2 separate regions of the Homo sapiens genome follow, and region 2 is linked to region 1. Evidence: promoter capture Hi-C in human tissues and cell types (Jung and others, 2019). All regions are on one chromosome and are shown on one strand. Each heading gives the region's core, a stretch centred on a gene start or on the middle of the fragment in contact. The rest is flanking DNA. Distances are from core to core; before and after follow the strand shown. Region 1 holds the start of BHLHA9 (basic helix-loop-helix family member a9). Region 2 holds the start of SMYD4 (SET and MYND domain containing 4).

Region 1 (3,308 bases), core at 76-2,575:
TACACTCTGCTTCCTAATGCCTTATTATTTTCTTTTATGGAGAAATTCACAGTTTGAAATAATGGGGTTATTGGCAATGCTCTTTTGGCGAGATGGATGTGAACCACACACCCATTCCAATGCCATAGGCCTTGGCATCTTAGAGGCATTTGGATTGTGACTGGGAATGAGTGGCCTTCAGGCGCTCCAAATAACTCAGCTGTGGATGCCGGAAATTCTACTGGGGGTCTTTCTTTGGGAATAAACATCATCTTTTTTCTGAGACCCTCTTTCAAATGCAAATCCCTGGGGGAAGAGGACAGAGGCTGCTCATTGAGTTCATAACCTGGCAGGGCTGTGTCACAAGATGGGGCTGCCCGAGGGCTCTGGACCCCAAAGATGCCCCTGATGTGGACCCAGGGCTGCAAAGGGATCTTCCCCGTCACCCTCTGCTGCTGACTCATCCCAGCTCTGCCTGCAGAAGGGGAGTCAAAGGGCAGTGGAGGGAGAGTCAGGCCCAACCAAAACCCGAACCCCAATTGCAGCCAGCCGCCCTCCATAGCTGAAAAAGCCGGAAGCTCTGGGTCAGCTTTACCTGCAGGGCCCTGCGCCTCCCATATGAGTCCTGCCGGGACACTCATGCTTTTCCTCAGTGACATCTCTGTGGTTGCCCACGGGACTTGACAAGAACTTTCAAGGTTTTGTTGTTGTTTTTGTTGTTGTTTTTCTGAGACGGAGTCTCGTTCTGTCTCCCAGGCTAGAGTGCAGTGGTGCGATCTCGGCTCACTGCAACCTCCAGCTCCTGGGCTCAAGCCATTCTCCTGCCTCAGCCTCCCGAGTAACTGGGATTACAGGCGCCTGCCACCACGCCCGGCTAATTTTTGTGTTTTTAGTAGACGGGGTTTTATATACTCTGTTGGCCAGGCTGGTCTCGAACTCCTGAACTCAAGTGATCCGCCCGCCTCGGCCTCCCAAACTGCTGGGATGACAGGCGTGAGCCCCAGTGCCCGGCCCTCTGCCTCTTTTTATTCCTATCAGCTCTCCTGCTAGAAGCCAAACTTAGCACCTTATCTGGGAATGGGGAGGAAGAATGTGGAACCCAGACACCCCACAGCGGCCCCAGAGCTAGGCAGGGCAAGGTCCCCGGGGCAGCGTGGCCGGGCTGCCCGTCTGGTCCCCGCTTACAAGAACCTGCAAGCTTCCCTCCTTGCTTTCCTTCTTCCCCTCGGTTCCTCCCCCGCCGACCTACCTGGAGGCCGATAATAAAGCAGGAGGAGGGAGATGGATGGACGGGAGGGCGGGGCGCCGCGTGGTGCCATAAAGCCCAGCTGGAAGGGGCCTGTCTCGGGAGTGTCCAGCCCCAGGAGCCGGGGACCGTCCGCGTCGCGAGCCGGGCCAAGGCAGTGGGCAGAGGGCAGAGGGCAGAGGGCCGGGGCTGGGGCAGAGGGCGAGTGCCCGGGAAGGCCATGCTGCGGGGCGCGCCAGGACTAGGCCTCACGGCGCGGAAGGGGGCCGAGGACTCTGCGGAGGACTTGGGGGGCCCCTGCCCCGAGCCCGGGGGCGATTCGGGGGTGCTGGGGGCGAACGGCGCTTCCTGCAGCCGGGGCGAGGCGGAGGAGCCGGCGGGCAGGAGGCGCGCGCGGCCGGTGCGGTCCAAGGCGCGGCGCATGGCCGCCAACGTGCGGGAGCGCAAGCGCATCCTAGACTACAACGAGGCCTTCAACGCGCTGCGCCGGGCGCTGCGGCACGACCTGGGCGGCAAGAGGCTCTCCAAGATCGCCACGCTGCGCAGGGCCATCCACCGCATCGCCGCGCTCTCCCTGGTCCTGCGCGCCAGCCCCGCGCCCCGCGGGCCCTGCGGACACCTGGAGTGCCACGGCCCGGCCGCGCGCGGGGACACCGGGGACACAGGCGCCAGCCCCCCGCCGCCTGCAGGGCCCAGCCTCGCGCGCCCAGACGCCGCCCGCCCCTCGGTGCCGTCCGCGCCCCGCTGCGCCTCGTGCCCCCCGCACGCGCCCCTGGCACGGCCCAGTGCGGTGGCCGAGGGGCCGGGCCTAGCACAGGCCTCCGGGGGAAGCTGGCGCCGCTGTCCGGGGGCTTCCTCTGCCGGGCCGCCTCCCTGGCCGCGGGGCTACCTGCGATCCGCCCCCGGGATGGGCCATCCGCGCTCCTGACCGGCCTCGAGGCACCGGCTGGGCTGCAGGGAGGCCGGGCTGGCAGCTGGACTATAAAACCCGGGACTGCAAAGGCGTCTTGGACAGAGCAGAACTGGACCGGCTGAGACCTGGCGTGGAAGAGAAGGAGCTCGCCAGAGAGAAGGAGCTCCGGGACCCGGGGTTGCGCCCCCACATCCCAGCCTGGGGCAGAGAGAAGGAGCTCCGGGGCCTGGGGCTGCGCCCCCACATCCCAGCCTAGGGAGGCAGTTGCCAGAAAGGCTCAGGATCCTGAACTCATCTTGGACTCGAACTCGTCTTGGAATGCCGCCTTCGCACTCCTGCGCCTCCGAGCCCTGTGTGTTCTCGATGCTTTTAGGAGAGTGAGGGCTTTGAGGCAGGAGGTGTGGGAGCGTGGGAATGCGGGTGGGGCCTGCTGTGGTCTCGTGGGCACATGAGTGCGGAGTCCCCTTCCCTGCCTGCGCTGCTGCCCAAGCCTGATCCGGGAGAGGCAGGATCCGGGAGAGGCAGGCAGGGGCAGCAGCCAAATAAAAGGAAAAACTCATTTCTCTCCGATACCACGACTCCAGTGGGCCCCGTGGCCCAGGGTGGCAGGAACGCCTGAGGGCTGGGGGCTCTCCTTGGAATGCTGGGCGGGGCCTAAGGCCCACAGGTAGGCGCCTGGGGGAACTCATTCATGGCAAGACCCCAGGTGTGGCTGAGCACTGTGGGAGCCCAAGGGGAGGAAAGAGACATCCAGAGACCCCTCCTCCCTGAGTCCCCTGGGGTGGAAGAGGATATCAGGAGAGGGGTCACGGGGCCTGGGAGTCTAAGGATGGGGTCAGCCCCGTCTCTGGACCTCCCTGCAGAGCTGCCTGGAAGCAGCCACAGTGAAGGGGGACTCTGGCCAGGTCTCAGGGAAGGAGGCCAAGGGCAGGGCTAGGATTGGGGGCCGGTAAGTCCTGCGTGCATGTACCCCGAGCGACAGGCAGGAAGAGCTCCCAGGGAACCGTGGGCCAGGGCCCCCATAATGAGGGGCCGACTTGGAACCCAGGAAGGATTCTGGGGAGGGGGTTGAGTGAGGGCAGAGGGGCCTCAGGCCAAGCCTGCTGAGCTAGTGAGAGACACAGCCAGCTGCCCCGAGAGTTTTGTCCAGAGAGCTGCCCTGCATCTGAG
Region 2 (3,587 bases), core at 50-2,549, 560 kb after region 1:
TTTTTTTTTTTGTGAGGCAGAGTCTTGCTCTGTCACCCAGGCTGGAGTGCAGTGGCACCATCTCGGCTCACTGCACCCTCCGCCTCCCAGGTTCAAGCAATTCTCCTGCCTCAGCCTCCGAGTAGCTGGGATTACAGATGCGCGCAACTACGCCCGGCTAATTTTTGTATTTTTAGTAGAGACGGGGTTTCACCATGTTGGCCAGGCTGGTCTCGAACTCCTGACCTCAGATGATCCGCCAGCCTTGGCCTCCCAAAGCGCTGGGATTACAGGCGTGAGCCACCGCGCCCGGCCTGATCCCTCTCTAGTTTCTCTGAGACACATCCCAGATTTTTCTTTCTCACCCACCCCAGCAACTATTCATTTAACAAGGTATTTCCCTCTCTTACATAGTTCAGCGTTCTGATTAAGTCCTCACCATCTCGTCTGGCATTCTTCCTAGAGTGTTATAATTAATGTCCATGCCATTGGCACCACTCCCCACTTTCAATCCAGCCTCCAACACTGAGACAGAAGTCAGTGCTCTGCCCTTAAATTCATCAACGCTACTCCAAGCATACCAGGAAGCCCAGGACAAAACCATCCTTACTTGACCCTTGTCTGACTTTCTAATTCTCAGGTGTCACTTACTCCTCTGCATGCACCCTTGCATACTGAACAACTCATTGCTATCCCCGGCTTGCCAGGCTATTTCAACTCTCCAATGTTTTGGCATAGGCTACTCATGCTTTCCGGACCAACCCTACCCTGGCTTATGGAGTCCACCTGGAAAATTCCCACACGTTCTTCGACTCGGCTCAAATGGCACCTCCTCCGGGACGGCGTCCCTGATTTCCCAGCTGTGATTCCAACACCCTTGGGGCCTGTACCACGTCTACCTGGAGGTGGGGTTACTGACGGCATAAAGTGCCCCCACACACTGTCCTCTTCTCTAAGGACGGGGGCCGGGTCTGATTCCCTTTCGGAGACCCCCCACCCCCACCCCCCACCGCCACGGTGCCAAGCTCAGGGCTTGGAGGCGGGAAGTCAGCCCCGCGTTGCTGGACGAATCGGGTCACTACTGCGACTCTATTTAGCAGCGGAGGTCTCAAGGAACAGCTTTAACCTCCTCTGGGATACCAACCCGTGCACTCGCCAGAGACCGAGGCGAGAACGCCTCGAGAACCGCTCAGACGCGCCCGGAACTGCGCCCTGGTCTCCCTCCCAGCGCCCGCGCAGCTCCTGGCGCGCCCCTTGGCGCCCCGCTCCGCCCCGCACCGCGTCCGGCGTCCCGCGCCAGGCCTCGCTTGGGACCATGGGTGGGTCACGTGGGCCGCGCCTCGGCCAATGCGGCGGCTGCGTAGCGCCCGGGCCCGCCCCTGAGCCGCGCGCACGTCGGGGGCGGGAGCGGTGCGCGCAACTTCTCGGGCCAATAACTGCGCAGCGCGCGGGACCCGGGTGGGGAAGCTGGAGCTGTTGCGGGGTCCGCGGGGAAGTCTTGGCGGTGGAGCCATGGTCGGCCAACTGAGCGAGGGGGCCATTGCGGTGAGGAGGTGCCGGGGGCTGGGCCGGCGGTCCGGGGTGGCTGCGGCCCCGAGCCTCGCGGAGTAGAGAGGGGGAGGGGAGCCCGGGGCGACGGGGGATGAACGCGAGGGGAGGAGATGGCGGGGGGCGGTGGGGACCCGCCGGGCGTCCCTCTAGTGTCATCGCCCCCTCCTCAAAGCATTCTTTCGATCGTCTTTAAAACATGCTCACATTTTTCCTACGTAAGAACAAACTAAATAAACGCTTGCCTTTCTCTGCATCTTCCACCTGCGGACACTTTCTGTCTCTTCTCCTTTCCCCACCCACAGCCAAACTTCTTGTCTGGTTTCAGCCACTTCCTTTCCTCGCCTTTCATCAACTCTTTAACCCACTCCAGTCATCCCTTTGATCGCTGTAGAAAACCCTGGCTGAAGGTACCAGTGGCCTCCAAGTTGCTAAATCCAGCCCTTTTCCGTTTTCAGCTTACCTGAGTTCTCAGCAGCGTTTGCGTTTAAGCCCTGCTTGCTTCAGGTCACACCCTCTTCCTTGGTTTTTAGTGGCTCAGCTTGGCAGGTCTATCCCCGTCTTATTTGTAAGTCCCTCTTTGTAAATTTTTGTTGAATCAAGGCTCCCTCTAGGCCCTCTTGACTCCCGAGGCAATTTCTTTTTTTTTCTCCAGCCTGGGCGACACTCACTGTCGCCCAGGCTGGAGTGCAGAGGCGCGATCTCGGCTCACTGCAACCTCCGTCTCCCGGGTGCAAGTGAGTCTCCTGTCTCAGCCTCCCGAGTAGCTGGGACTACATGTGTGCGCCACCACACTCGGCTACTTTTTGTGTTTTTATTAGAGACTGGGTTTCATCATGTTGGCCAGGCTGATCTCGAACACCAGACCTCAAGTTATCCGCCCGCCTCGGCCTCCCAAAATGCTGGAATTACAGGCATGAACCACCGCGCCTGGCCCCAAGGCAATTCCATTGCCATCTATTAATATATGTCAGTTGCTCACAAATTTCTTTGTACAGAGCCACCTTTACTCTAAAAGACAAACTTCCGTCATCTGTCTGCTTATTCCATGCTTCAGAGGGTTTTAAGTTCAGTATACGTATCCCAAAGCAAATTCTTTATCTTTCTAAGTCTGGGCCTCTTGATCCCTATCTCCACGGATGGCACCATTATCTATTCAGTTCAGTGCTAACCAGAAATTGAGAAATCATTCCTCCTATATTGTCCATTACCTGGGCATCCAGTCCCTCACGAAGTGAAGTGTATTTTGCCTCTGCGTAGATCTATCAAGCCCACTGGCTTCTCTCCATCCATACTGGCACCGTCTTTTTTTTTGCCTGAGCTGCTGACTTCCACTCAGCATACGTTCCTGCCACCATTCCCATCCACAGCATACTCTCAGCCTACCTCTCCAGTCACCCCCACATTTTTTTTTAAATTTAGATTTCTGGTATATTCCATACTCCTACCTTCTTCCATGGGGCCTTTGAACTTTTTTTTTTTTTTTTGAGCTGGAATCTTGCTCTGTTGCCCAGGCTGGAGGGCAGTGGCGCGATCTCGGCTCACTGCAAGCTCTGCCTCCTGGGTTCACGCCATTCTCCTGTCTCAGCCTCCCGAATAGCTGGGACTACAGGTACCCGCCACCACGCCCGGCTAATTTTTTGTATTTTTTAGTAGAGACGGGGTTTCACCGTGTTAGCCAGGATGGTCTCGATCTCCTGACCTTGTGATTCGCCCGCCTCGGCCTCCCAAAGTGTTGGGGTTACAGGCGTGAGCCACTGTGCCCGGCCTTTTTTTTTTTTTTTTTTTTTTTTTTGAGGCAGAGTCTCACTCTTTCTCCCCATACCCCCCCACTACCGCCCCAGGCTGGAGTGCGGTGGCGCAATCTCGGCTCACTGCAACCTCTGCCTTCTGGGTTCAGGCAGTTCTCGTGCCTCTGCCTCCAGAGTAGCTGGGATTACAGGCATGTACCACCACACCTGCGTAATTTTTTGTATTTTTAGTAGACACGGGGGTTTCACCATGTTGCCCAGGCTGGTCTTGAACTCCCAACCTTAGGTGATCCACCCTCCTCGGCCTCC

What was found. The method cuts DNA at HindIII sites, captures the fragments that hold promoters and counts their contacts. A contact is called where the count stands out against the background at its distance.
Region 2: the fragment with the promoter of SMYD4 here is called in contact with the fragment with the promoter of BHLHA9 in region 1 in 2 of the 25 tissues and cell types used here (small bowel and spleen).

What each region holds. Positions count from the first base shown.
Region 1 is chr17:1,269,119-1,272,426 of GRCh38, forward strand. BHLHA9 (basic helix-loop-helix family member a9) reads left to right here and starts at 1,326. Exons shown (of 1, transcript NM_001164405.2): 1 at 1,326-2,697. The coding sequence starts at 1,446. The coding sequence ends at 2,153. RefSeq lists enhancers at 1-123, 1,728-2,478. The HindIII fragment of the contact is 29,201 bases long and covers 1-3,308 here.
Region 2 is chr17:1,828,603-1,832,189 of GRCh38, forward strand. SMYD4 (SET and MYND domain containing 4) reads right to left here and starts at 1,300. Exons shown (of 11, transcript NM_052928.3): 1 at 1,124-1,300. It overlaps RPA1 (replication protein A1), which reads left to right and starts at 1,403. Exons shown (of 17, transcript NM_002945.5): 1 at 1,403-1,524. The coding sequence starts at 1,492. RefSeq lists a silencer at 1,152-1,671 and an enhancer at 2,299-2,799. The HindIII fragment of the contact is 28,265 bases long and covers 1-3,587 here.